Linked DNA regions of Homo sapiens: regions 1 and 2 are each linked to region 3. Evidence: promoter capture Hi-C in 16 types of primary human blood cells and fetal thymus (Javierre and others, 2016). All regions are on one chromosome and are shown on one strand. The core of a region is centred on a gene start or on the middle of the fragment in contact, and the rest is flanking DNA. Distances in the headings are between cores, read along the strand shown. Region 1 overlaps BSN (bassoon presynaptic cytomatrix protein). Region 2 overlaps BSN (bassoon presynaptic cytomatrix protein). Region 3 holds the start of CAMKV (CaM kinase like vesicle associated).

Region 1 (4,032 bases), core at 1,533-4,032, 250 kb after region 3:
TAGAAATCACCCAGAAAGCTTTGTGGGGAGGACCAAAGTTCATAGGAGTAGAGGAGATGTCAGAACCAGAGAAGTCAGGGAAAGGAGAAAAAAGAGAATGACCCCACAGGGTTATAGAAGTTCCCATGAGGAGGAGCACTCAACAATGCCCCATGCCATGATGAGTCTACGTATGTGAAAGCCGAGAAGTCACAGGAAGAAAGGCTACACCTATGAGTGCCACACACCATAAATGCCCAAGCCCTGTCCCAAACCAGTCCAGCTTGGGAGGGGCCAGTTCCTTCTCCAGCTGAACACAAGGGCCCACCGTGGCAGGAGCTCCAGGGGTCATAACTGTCTGTACCACACACCTGAACACACATTCCATGAGAGCCACAGTGACTACACCCGTCCAAGGCCTCCTCAGGAGGGAAGAGGTAAGCCCTCCAGGAGGCTCTTCTTAAGAGACACAAACAAAGGTCTCCGCCAAAATATGGCCGCTGGGCAGGAGAAAGAAGGGAATGAGGAAAAAGAGAGGGAGGTGTCCACAGGCAGGACCCAGCCCACCCCAAGGAAGACTTGGTCTTGTGGATGTGGCCTCATCAGCAGAGAGGCCCCTTGAGGCCACTGCTCCTCCCAGCAGCCATGGGAGTCCTATTGCTGGGGAGGGCCAGGGTAAGGGTGTGTAAGCAAGGAGGGGAGAGGGGTGCCGCCATAAAGGAGACACAAGAGACAGGAAGGGCAGAGAGATGAAGGAGTGGCTAGAAGTCAAACAGGGAAGACTAGAAATGCCTTATCTAGGGACAAATTATAAAATTATATATATATATATATATATATATATATATATATAATGTATTTTATTTTTTATTTTACTTTAAGTTCTGGGACACATGTGCAGAACGTGCAGGTTTGTTACATAGGTATACATGTGCCATGGTGGTTTGCTACACCTATTAACCCGTCATCTAGGTTTTAAGCCCCACATGCATTAGATATTGGGACAAATATATTTTTAAGATGGCCAAGAAAGGTAAACAATGTACAAACAGCCAGATTTCTACCAGCTTTTCTTCCTTTCAGCATTTAAGGCTATTAGCTGATCAGAAACAATCTTAACTCAGAGCTGTTTGCCAAGGCAGGAAGGAGCCCCCTGGCCACAGGAGGGCTGCTGGGAACGGGAACAGAGAAAATTCAGTTAGCCTCTCCCCCACCAATCCTTAGTACCCTGTGGCCTCCTGTCCCATCCCAGGACCACTGCTGGGAGACATAATCCTGATTGCACTGGTGAGAGGCTGGGCTCCCCTCTGTCAGAAGCCCCCAGAAAGGCACGAGGCCAGCGTCAGTGACTAAAAAATGCTTCAGACACCAGTGACGTCCATAATGGCAGAACCACCAGGAGAGATGTGGCTGCCCTGGTGCACAGTGGGAAGGAGGGCCTGACCAGGCTGATTCAGACCAGACGGAAAAGCAGCCAGGCATGGAGCCAGTGCAGGCGCCAGAGGGAAAACCAAGCTGGGCCCCACAAGGCAGCATTCCAGAGCATGCCCCCCACCGCCTTCAGTTGAGGATTTGAAAGAAATGTTTTCCATTAATAAATGGCTGTCTTTGCTCACCAGGAGGGGAGTGAACTTAAAGAAACTGTTTCTCTAAGTCAGAGTGGCCAGAAGAGCCCCACAGCTTCAAAAGAGGTTTTGATGAATTCATGGCTGACCTTTCTGTAATGGGCAATTAGGGATGGGCAGATGCTGTGGGAGGACCCTCTCCTTTGAGTCCCAGGGCAGGAAGGACTACTGGGCCACGCCAGTGGTTCCTGTGCACCCAGGCAGCAAAGCAGAGGCTGTAGAGCAGTGGGTGCTGGGGCCAGGTCCAGTGTCCTAGAGCTTCTCTCTCAGGAATGGATATGAGAATCTAGAAAGTTTAGGCTTAGAAAAAAATTCCAGTTTTTGCACAAGAAAACATATCCTGGCCTGCCCAGCCTTCAAGCCAGTGGCCTCCTGCCTTTTTAATCATGTGCCTCTATCAATACAACATGTTTCAGCATCTCCAACATATGAATATTCATCTACCAATTATATAAATGCATATTTTTTATAAAACCCACCTCCCCAAGTGGAAAAGTTTTAAAAGATGAGATAGACAATAAATATAAACAGAAATTTCCATATGTTCTGCCTTGTCCCTCCCGTATTCCTCAACCCCTTGGCATATGTGTCCTAGTTGAGGCCACTGCTAAGAAAATTCTTACACTCTTAATCGCCAGTCCTTAAAATAGTCTCTGTTGGTTTCCCAGACCAGATTCAGTCCTACCCTCCACCAGGCTCCATGGAAAGTGTACTTAGGTCAGTGACAGGGAGGCCCCCAGCCATCAAGGGCTGGCCTCATCAGCTTCCTGATTGTCCTAGGGGCCAAAAAGAATTTGCAGTGCTGACGGCAATAGCACAAAGGTAAGGATCTCCATAAAACGCAGCCACAGCCACAGAAAGAGCCTGTGATTGCCCAAGAAGATGGCATCATGGGCTCAAAGCCTCTAAGGTGCTGTCTGCTGGCTGGAGAGGGAAGGTACCACACCCAGGGTTCCTGGGCAGGGTGAGAGGTCATGCCATAGGCAGAGCTCCCTTGAGGCCGACATCTTCTCTTCCTAACTTCCCAGCCCCTTTATGTTGTAGTCCCACTCTGATGGTAAGTTTCCAAGACTCAAAAGACCCCAGAGTAACCCAGAGAGCTAGGTCCTTGGTAGAGCTGGGGACAAAGCACCATGGTGGCCATGCATCAGTATACACCAGTGACGCCAGGTGTATACTGATGCACTTGGGCAGACATGCACTCAACACCCCTGAGCAGACAAACCCACATGAAGGAACCATCAGTGTTACCAGGTACCTGCCACCTCCACTCATCCTTTCCACTCAGAAATGTCTGGCAGGTGGGACTCTTCCTGTGGCCAAATAACAAGGCTCAATTTGTTCCAGGCCAGCCTGTTTGGGCCAGAAGAGAACATGTTTAAGGCAGTGAGCTCTGACTGCTCTGATGTTGCTGAGAGAAAGAGTCCAGCATGAGACTGCAGGTGGGTCAGCAAGGGGAGAATGTGACAAGAGGGACTGGTAGGAACAAGACTTGCTGCCATTAAACATAGGCTAGAAGAAGCTGCCAGCATCAGACGGGGAGACCACCAGGAGTCTGAAAGCAAGGGGAATCCAGGCCACAAATGCCACAAAAGTAAACCTTGGGGACCTCATTCCCCAGCCCTGGGGCCTGAGTGGGTCTACTAGATTGAGAACATCTTTCAGGGAAAATTGATTTGCTTTTGGTTTCCTCTGGGACCAGCTAGTCTCCAGAATCCAGAGCAAGGATAGGAAATAAGGGTAACATAAGGGTAACTTTCCTTTAACCCCAATAAATTGGTAGTGACCGCCTGGGAAGTGGGCTTGGGAAGGATTCATGGGAAAGATTGTCACCATCAATTAAGCACAAAGGCCATGGACTTGTCATCCATGATGTAGAACAAAACCAAACCCTTAGACCTGCCTCAAGTGACATCCATATTCTTGTAGTGTCTCACTAAGAATTGCACCAGGCCCACCTCAGGCCAAATTCTAGAAAGAGACCAGTAGGTATACAGTAGTGGTTCATGTGGCGTTTACCTTTGATCTTCCCCTCAGTCCCATTTTTACCTCTATCCCATGGCTTTTCCAGAATAGCAAGAGCTATATGTGGCCACCAGTCAGCTGACGTGTCAAATGCCATGAGTTCAGTATAACTTTAAAGACTGAATGTCGGCCGGGCGCGGTGGCTCACGCCTGTAATCCCAGCACTTTGGTAGGCCAAGGCGGGTGGATCACGAGGTCAGGAGATCAAGACCATCCTGGCTAACACGGTGAAACCCTGTCTCTACTAAAAATACAAAAAATTAGCTGGGCGTGGTGGCGGGCATCTGTAGTCCCAGCTACTTGGGAGGCTGAGACAGGAGAATGGCATGAACCTGGGAGGCAGAGCTTGCAGTGAGCCGAGATCAAGCCACTGCACTCTGGCCTGGGCGACAGAGCGAGACTC
Region 2 (4,472 bases), core at 1,665-4,164, 210 kb after region 3:
AGGGGAAGGAAGGAGGGAGCAAGAAGCCATGGTCCCCACCCTGTGCTCACCAGTGCCTTCCTGCTTCTCTGCCCAAAGCTGCTTGGGCCCTAAAGCCCCTGTGCTGGTGACCTCATTGGCTTATTCTAACCCCAGGCTTGTTTTCTGCTGGGGAGGTCTACAGCCCCTGGGGCACCTTCTCAGGGATTAGTGAGGGCATGCAGTGTGGGGGAGCTCAGGGCACAGGTGGTATAGAGAGAGAACAGCCTGGGTGCTCTGGGCCACAGCCAAGGGTGTCAAAGGATAGGCTCACCTGCAGGTCCAGGTCCTGGTGCTGGCTGGGCCTGAGGAGCCCTCCCCTGTTGCGGTGCTTTGGCTGTCCCTTTAGAGCCATTTGTCTGTTCTGCCCGTGGCTGCAACACAGAACCTATAGCTAAGATTCTGCCCATGCCCAGCCTGGAACCAAGGGGATGTCCAAGCTTCATTCATAGCATCTTCCCTGGTTACAACCCATGCATGGGAGCTCTGCTTACCGGTCCTGCTGGTTGAGGACCTGTGGCTGTGCTGGGGCCTGGCTGAGGCTTCCCTGCAGGCTGGCTGGCAGCAGGGGCTGAGCCCCGGGTGGTTGGCTGGCTCTGTTGCTGCAGCCGAGCCTGTGTCAGAGCCTGCTGTGGGGGCTGCAGCCCAAGACCTTGCTGCTGCTGCTGTGTCTGTGGCTGGCGTGATGCTGCCCCAGAGGGTATTTGCCTGGATGATGGTGACTGTGACTGCTGTGGTCCTGGAGCTGCCTGCCGACCTTGCAGCTGCGGCTGCGCCTGGGGTTCTGCCTTTGACTGCAGTGCAGCGGGCCCGGAGTGGGCTTGCCGGGAGCCCTTCTTGCTGTCAGAGGCATGATGGTATGCGGATGAAGCACGGGATGGCTGTGAGTACTCAGCAGAGCTGGGATACCCAGGCTGACCCTTCTTCGGCATAGCTGGAGCAGAGCTGGGCTGAGAGTGGGGCCGGGCCTCATGGCGACCCAGGTCCCGAGCGTGTGGTTTGGCAGCACGCCGTCCCGGCTCCTCACCAGTGTGGCGGCCTGAGTGCCGCCCGTGGTCACCGTGCCGGTGTTCCTTGGCTGAGGCATGGCGGCCTGGGCCACCCTCATCATGAGGCCACAGGCCCTCCTCAGGGGGTTCATCGTAGTCATGGTAGCTGTGCCTGGCAGGGCCTCGCTTCTGGGAGGAGGAGGAAACTGCATGGCCCCCGTGGTGCCTGAACCGGTCAGAGCGGGCATCCCGGGGCTTATCAAACCAGTCCGTCTCCTCCTGGCCCAGGTGATACGCTTCAGAGACCAAAAACAGAATACCATCAACCCCCGGGCTAGCCGCAGGGGGAGGCCTAGCTGAAGCCATGCAAAGAAACCAAGAGAGTGGGTGCCACAGCCACAAGCAGATCAGCAGGCCCCCAGCCCACCCTCCCGCAACCACGGACCAGGGCACAGATGGAGCAGGCAAGGGCAGCCTGCCTGCAGCAGGGCCCACCAGATGAGGCGCCAGACCAGACCCTGCTGGGACATCTTAGGGCCCAGGGCCCCACAGGTAGGCAGGCCCCCCAGCTGCTGAGTATCCGCAGAAATCACCCCTGGCTGCCATTACCTTCGCTGTCGGAAACCACGCAATGGGAATCATCCAGGATGTAGCCCTCCTCACGCTTATATGCGTGGGCCCGAGGTCCGTCCTTGACATGTTCCTGGACATCAGGCATGGAGTGGCTGGAGCAGAACTGTGGGCAGGTATCCCCGCCGGGAGGGAGGGGCCCTCCGGCAGGGCGGGGCCTCCCCAAAGGACTGACGGGGCTCTCCTCTTCAGAGGCCTGGCTCCGCATGGGGGGTCGTACCCGGCTGTGGGCCATACTTAGGGATGAGGGCTTGGGGCCCGCTTTTTGAAGTCGCTCCACAGCCTCCCGTTCCCTTTCGTACCCCTTGCCCCAGCCACTGAAGTCGTGGCTGGACAGCTTCTCCCCACTGTATGCAGAAGGTGCCCGGGACCGGCTGCTCCCGCCATAAATGCGGTCGTCCTCCACTGCGTCCCGGCTGGACATCCCATAGTATTTTTGCTGCTCATACACGTTCTTCTTGAGCCCATAGGTGATTTCATCCTGGAACTTCCTGCCCCGAGAGACCAGGCTGCTGCTGACTGCAGGTGGGGGGTAGGACGCCAGGTCTGACTCTACGTCTTTGGCCTCTTCAATAGGCGAGAACTTGGATATCTTTTGCTCCATGCCCTGCTTCCGGTGCTTGCTGCGCTTTGAGGAGATGGCAGCTGGAGCCAGGCTCTTGGAGGGATGCTTGGGCCCCATGGGCCCTGGACCATACTTCTCTACTCGAGCCCCATGCCTGTAGTCACTGTCACCATAGTAGTGGGTACTGGCTGGTCGACCATTGCTCTCCATGCTCCGGAGGTGGCCACCCTTCCCGCGGGGATCGTATGAGTCCTCCTCAGATTCCTCTTCTCCTCTGGCATAGCAGCAGGGCAGTGTGGGCCCGTCAAGGACACCTGGTTCTCCAGGCTCCTTCCCTGGACGCCCACTGCTGCCTGGCCCCAGGGGCTCCAGCCGTTGGCTATCAGGAGCAGTAGAGGTGCTGTCCTTGGTCAGTTCACTGATGTCATCAATCATTACGTAGTTTCGAGGAACGTTCTGCTCCAGACTGGTATAGTGTGAGTCAGAGGGGTAGGTGGGGGCTGGGCTCTGGCTCACACTGCCACGGTCACCAGCCCGGGGCACCTCAGGGACCTTGCCCTGCTCATAGCCGCTGCTCACTGCTGGGCCACTGTAGCTGGTTTCAGATGGGGCTGAAGACATGGGCACAACGGGGCTGGCGATCACCTCATAGTTGGTGGGCACCTTCTGCTCCAAGTCGGCTAGCGATGTCTGGCGTGGCTTCTGCAGTGGGGCACGGCTATCAGCGGGGACTGGAAAAAGGGTGCTCTGTGTGGTTGGCATGGGTGTTTGGCCTGCATAGTGGCCTGTGGGGCGGAAAGCCTGCTGGTTTGGCAGGCCAGGCTCAGCTGGGTAACTGGCACCAGGAGGAAAGGCAGGAGCTGGGTACGTGCTGGGGCCAGGGTAGGTGGGGGCCTGGTGGGCTGGGAATCCGTTCTGAGTTGGCCCACCACTGCCTGCAGAATACTGTGGGGCTGGAGGCTGGAAGCGGGGCTGCTGGAAGGCAGTGGGACCAGAGGGGGTGGCAGGAGCAGCGGCAGTGGCAGGGAAGTCCACAAACTGGCCAGCGGGAGTGGTGCAGCCCTGGAGCCGCAGCTGGTTGAGCTCACTGTCCGATAGGTAGTCACGATGCTCGCCAAGACCACGCAAGGGTGGGTAGTCACGGCCACCCCGGTCTTTGGCCAAAGACTCTTTGCGTTGTGTGATACCCAACTCCAGGTACTTGAGCTTGGCGTCAATCTCCTTCTCCTCCTCATCCAGCTCTGCCTGCTTCTTGCGCAGTTTGGTGGACTCATGCTCCACCAGCCGCAGGTCCCGGTCCAGCTCCCGGAGCAGGCTGGCCTTGGTAGCAGGGACAGTGGTGGGCCCCGTCAGCCCTCGCTGCAGCAGGCTGGCTGCATACAGCTGTGGGGAGGCCTGGCCAGCCAGGGGAAGGTGAGCCTCCTCTGGAGGGGGGCTGGGCAGTGTCCGCTTCACCTTGCGGACCAGGCTGTTGGGTGGCAACGCCGACACCTGAGACAGAGGGAAGGGTGGGCAGCACTGAGACCCAAGGTGTGGTGACTTGATGGGGTGTGGGGTGGCAGAACCCAGGCCTGGGCTGGGGAAGGAGCTGGGTTCCATCTTGCTGGTGCCCTGATTTACCAGGCAGCCTGGAGGCCTACCCTGCCCACCCATAGGCCTTGGTTTCTTTGCCATAGAGGGAAGATCTGTGATTATTTTACAGCCCTTCTCTTTCCCAGAGCTTTGGGAAGCAGGAGGGTACGGGCAGATTCCCTTCATGCCAATGTCCTGTACTGGCCCAGCACATGGCTTTGAGAACCCCTGCACATCTCCAATGGGCCTGCCACCCTCTGCCTCACATTGAGGTAAGAAGAGTACAGCTGTGGCTCTGGGTTTGGGGCCTAGCAGCTGACAGGGGTTGAGATCAGTGGAGTATGAACAGGAGGCATGGAGTGGAGAGGGTCCTGGGCCCGCCAGGCTCCCTAGAGGATCATGGGAAGGGACACATGTAGATTGTATGCCAATCGTGGCAGGCTCTGAGTCATTCTGCATCCTGCCCTAGTCCTCTCTAAAGTGGAAGGCTCCTCAGCTGCCTGCCCACCCTCTTCCTCTAGTGCCCTGCACTGCCCTCTGCCAAACCCTCTGGGCTGTGCTCTTGGCCTGGTCCCCAGCTCCCTCCATGTCCCTCGGTCAACCTGCTGTTCTCTGGAGCCACCAGTGCACCCGTAAGTCCTATCCAGCCCTACCTCCAGCAGCATGGCTTCCTGGTCAAGGTTCCCTAACAGTGCCTA
Region 3 (4,487 bases), core at 1,025-3,524:
GGAGGTTGAAGCCAAAACATTGAAGCCGGTCCTACCCTGCCTGTGCCTTCCTGTCTAGGGGCTGAGGGATAAGCCATGGCTCAATCCTAGCCCTGGGTTCTTGTCTTCAGATTGCCCTCCACAAATGGCAAAGACTTGTCTATCTTCACATACACCAGAGATCAAGGGGCTGCTCTGGTGGGGAGCCTGAAAACAGCCAATGATGTAGGGTCAGCACAGACCCTGCCCACTGCTGGACATGGTCCAGCCCCCTTCCCATGTCCAGCTCTCAAAGCCTGATTCAGCCTCCACAATCCTGAGACTTGTGTCAGGCAGGAAGGGGACTGATAACTCCAGGGACCAGCTACAGCGTCCACACACACGTGCCAGCAAGCATGCCTGGGTGCACAAAGAATGCAGACACACGTGCCCCTGGGCACCACTGCATACACTGTGCTGTTGCATCTCCCTCGGCAAAAGAGAGCATACACAACACGTACACGTGTGCACACACACCCTGCCACGTGCTCTCACCCACATGCACAGAGCGTGCTTAGGACCAAGAAGAGGTGGAGTACTGCCAGCAGCAGGCAGGGCGCTAAGGAGCCACCCCTTCCCCTGCCTAAAAATCCCCATTCCAGCTTCTCATTGACCCCCATGCCTGGATAGCCATGACCCTCAGGAAAGACAGAAAACATGTATGTGGCATGTGTGGGGTCAGCAAGCTACAGCTTGGCTACACCATAAAACTCAGAGACCCATTGTTTCAAGAATAGTGGGCAGATGGCAGGAAGGACTCAGTGCCAGGCCATTCATTCATTCTGCAGACATCAGCCGAGCATACTGAGATGAGAAACGGGTTCTGCCTTGCAGATACCCAGCCTGCCAGGAGATTCCTACCCAGTGGTGGGGTGGGTCCCATAACCCGAGACCACTCAGAGCCCAGGGACCCCAGAAGTGGCACCAGCCTGGCCTAGAGGAGGTAACACCAAGCCAGGGAGGAAGGTGAAGGGCTCAGTACCCCCTCTGGAGGAAAATTTTGAGGAACCTTGTTTGAGGCGGTCATTTCCTAAGCTAGCCTTCAGTCTGAGCCCCAGCCCCAGCTTCTGGACTTGGACAGTCCCTCCTGTCATCAGCCATGGGTGGCCAGGGCAGCCTCAAGATGGCTGAGGGTTTGGGGATGACCCCAACTCCCTCTCCCACAGCAGGGTCAGGAGGCTCACTGGGAGGAGTGAGGTGGGATAAAACCCAGCTCCAGACACTGAGAGGCCTGAGTCTGGTCTTCAGATACTGGCCTTAGGATGGTCCTCAGGGCTTGTGAGGGGTGTGGGTCAGGCTTTGGGTCCGTGAGCCTCACTGACAAGGGACAGAGAAATGGCCAAGGACTTCCTTTAAAGCTTCCTCCTGGTGGTTCTGAGCCTCCTCCCTCTGATTAGCACCCAGGCCAGGTGGGATACCTTGGTGCCACAGTTCTCCTGTGTCCCCATATCCCAGGCCAGGCCACTAGAGTGATACAACTCATGAAGTGTTTGACAGTGATTAGACTGAAAAGAAAGCAGAGGCCACACCATGTCACAGGTGACTTTTATAGTTTGGGAAATTTGGTGCCACACAGGAAGGGGCTGACTGTGCTGCCACCCTTGCTGGTACTTATGTTTGGGAAAGACTCTGGCCTTGCAGGAGTTGGGGATGGGGTGGGATAGGAGACTTTGCTACTACAGTCTAGGGCCCTCACTGTTTTCACACTGACTACCTGCAAACACACACCTCTGTGTGTTTACTGCTCCTAGCTAGGGGATGCGTAGCTAGGGGATGCTAGGGGATGCCACACTGACTACCTGCAAACACACACCTCTGTGTGTTTACTGCTCCTAGCTAGGGGAGCCTGCCCTAGCCCGACTGCCCATCTGGTTTTTCTAAGTTGGTCCTGCCTTTTGGGTCGGGTTCGGGGAGCTGGGCAAAGCCCCGTTCCCTAGAGACTAATGACTGGCAAGCGATCCTATGCAGCTCCAGGACTCAGGCTTTCCCCCAACTCTCCACTCACCACCCCTTACATTGGGCATAGGAGGCCTCCTCCGGCCCCAGGCTGAGGGCCTAAGGGAGCCATTGAGAACCTTGGCCAGGGCTAAGCAGGCCAGTGCTCACCAGCACCGCTGCCATCCCGCGCGCTCCTGCTCTCCAGTGGGATTCTGCCCTTAAGGCTCCGCCAGGGTCGGGGCGGGGCCGGTTGGGAGGCCCCGCCCCCAGCCCGCCCCCGGCCCGGGGTGCGAATCCGGTGCCGGCAAGCGGCTGGCGATGCTGGAGGTTCGCTAGCCGAAGCGGCTGCATCTGGCGCCGCGTCTGCCCCGCGTGCTCGGAGCGGATTCTGCCCGCCGTCCCCGGAGCCCTCGGCGCCCCGCTGAGCCCGCGATCACTTCCTCCCTGTGACCAACCGGCGCTGCAGGTGCGGGGCGGGCCGGGCTGGGGGCGCTTCCCGAACGCAGGTTGTGGGGCCTTGGGGGATTGTTTCCCTGGCTCGAGGTGCGGGATGCAGAGTGCGCGGGGGCGCAGCGAGGGCTCGAGGTCCTGGCGGGGTCAGAGCGCGCGGGCTTTGCAGATTTGGGGGAGGGAGTGCGGGGTCGGGCTAAAGTTCCCCATTACCTCGGACGGCTTGGGGGTTCTGGGGGGAAGCTTCTGCGGCTCGGAATTGTGAAAAGATTAACCCTCGAAGATTCGTGGTCCCCCGTGAGGATAGGGGCCGAGAGCTGAGCCGTCCCTCCCCGTTCCCAGAGCCGCCTCCAGCCCCTCCCAACTGTCCCCGGGCCCCTTCCCTCCCGCTTAGCAGTCACTAATTTCCATGACAACGGAGAGTTCTTTATGGGCGACAACCCGGAGGGGGCTGGGCGGGGCTGCCGCGGGGTGGGGGAGGAAGCTCCAAGCCCCTGGGGACCAGCAGCCCCCCAGCCAAAATTCAGCTTCCAAGCCTTCACCTGGGTGCCAGCTGGGGGTCCAGTGCATGGACCCACGTGCACGGTGGGGGTGGGGGCGCACATGTTCCTGCTGGGAGGTGCGGGGCTTGGTGCTCACACGTGTGCTTTCCGCATGTGTGTTGCTGTGCCAGCGGGGGCGAGCCAGCAGCACTTGGGAAAGGGGTCAGGGTGGCAGCACGGTGGGGAGCAGGGCCCCTGGCTGGAGGTGGCTGGGATAGTGACAGCATGAGCTTCTGCCTTCCCCAGCTTGTACTGTTTGGCAGAGACCCTGGGCTCTTGAGCCCCAGCCCCCTCCCCGCATAGCTCTGCCAAATTGCTTTTGTCCGCACCTCCCAGGCAGATCCTGCTCCACCAGGTTCCTTCCTAAGGATCAGGGCCCTCTGTCCCACACTAAAAGCTCAGAGTCTGCAGTAGTCCAGTCCCTGTGCTGTACTCCCCTTACCCCCAAGTCCAGGCTTTGAGCCCCCAGGACTACCTTTAGAGACCTGGTGCCCTCCCCCACCCTCAGAGTTGATTCCTGGCAGCTCCAGCGACTTCTGAGCCTCAGTTTCCTCAACTGGGGAACTGGTGTCTCCACTCAGAGTCAGGTTGGTTTCCAGGGTGGGGCAAGGGTCTCCCTTTTCTAATATTTGGTGTGGACCCTTCAGGTGCTCTCCTAGGCTGGCTGTTCACATATCTCTGATGGCCCTACTCTCCAGCCCCATGCCCTGGCCACCATTCACAGGCAGGCAAGCAGTCCTCTGCCCTGGGAGAAGGCCAGATTCCATGGTTTCCATTAGGGGAAACTGAGGCATGGGGAGGTGAAGGGCTGTGTGGTTATCCTGTTTCTGGGTTGCTTGTGGTGCCGTTTCTGGCACTCATGGCAGGATCTGCTGTTGGGGGTTGGTGAGAGGGGATTAAGCAGAGCTGTAAGAGGGGCTCTGGGGACCCAAAGCCTGGAAAGGATAGCAGATGGGGGAGGGGTTGGCTGGGAGGGTCTAAGTACAGCTGGGCCAACTGAGAAGAGGGACTATAAAGGGAAGCAGCCAGGCATCCGAGCCTCATTTCCATACCCCTATGCGTCTGCCTTCAACATGTTGGACCTGCTTTACCTAAGCTGCCGTGATGGCAGAGAGACGGGCTGGGAACTGTCCTGACTGGGGGGCTGCAGCAGCTGGCCTCTTCCCCACCAACATGCTCCAAGGAGCTGGCCTCCTTTTGGCTGTGCCTCCTACACCAAGTTCAGTGTATGTTTGGGGGATACAGGAGGGTGCAGTCTCGAAGGTCCCAGTACCATGGATAGCTCCTGGCCCAGGGATTTAGAGCACATCGCCATGGAGGCCTTAGGGCTCTGCTGGGCACCCATCCGCCCCCTTCAGAACTCCCGTCCACCTCCCCTTTCCTGCCCTTTGTGCCTGTGTCCCTTTTACTTTGTCATCTCCTTGCTCCTCTTCCATCACAGGTTCTGTCTTTGTCTGTGTCTCTGCCCCATTCTCTTTTTTCTAAATTCTCTCCATCTCCCCACCTCCCCTTTCTTGATGGGGACCTGGGTCACAGAAC

The links. The method cuts DNA at HindIII sites, captures the fragments that hold promoters and counts their contacts. A CHiCAGO score of 5 or more calls a contact.
Region 1: a contact is called between a fragment that was not itself captured here and the fragment with the promoter of CAMKV in region 3, in 1 of 17 cell types (M1 macrophages). The highest score is 6.6, in M1 macrophages.
Region 2: a fragment that was not itself captured here is called in contact with the fragment with the promoter of CAMKV in region 3 in 1 of 17 cell types (endothelial precursors); the score reaches 5.4 in endothelial precursors.

Annotation. Positions count from the first base shown.
Region 1 is chr3:49,614,084-49,618,115 of GRCh38, reverse strand. The region is part of intron 1 of BSN (bassoon presynaptic cytomatrix protein); the gene reads right to left. Among named protein-coding and RNA genes, the nearest start is that of APEH, 58 kb to the left of the region's middle. The HindIII fragment of the contact is 5,524 bases long and covers 21-4,032 here.
Region 2 is chr3:49,659,707-49,664,178 of GRCh38, reverse strand. BSN (bassoon presynaptic cytomatrix protein) reads right to left here. Exons shown (of 12, transcript NM_003458.4): 6 at 1,617-3,693; 7 at 513-1,303; 8 at 293-392. Among named protein-coding and RNA genes, the nearest start is that of APEH, 12 kb to the left of the region's middle. The HindIII fragment of the contact is 4,908 bases long and covers 461-4,472 here.
Region 3 is chr3:49,867,693-49,872,179 of GRCh38, reverse strand. CAMKV (CaM kinase like vesicle associated) reads left to right here and starts at 2,274. Exons shown (of 11, transcript NM_024046.5): 1 at 2,274-2,422. RefSeq lists enhancers at 2,590-3,521, 3,522-4,454. The HindIII fragment of the contact is 1,273 bases long and covers 1,379-2,651 here.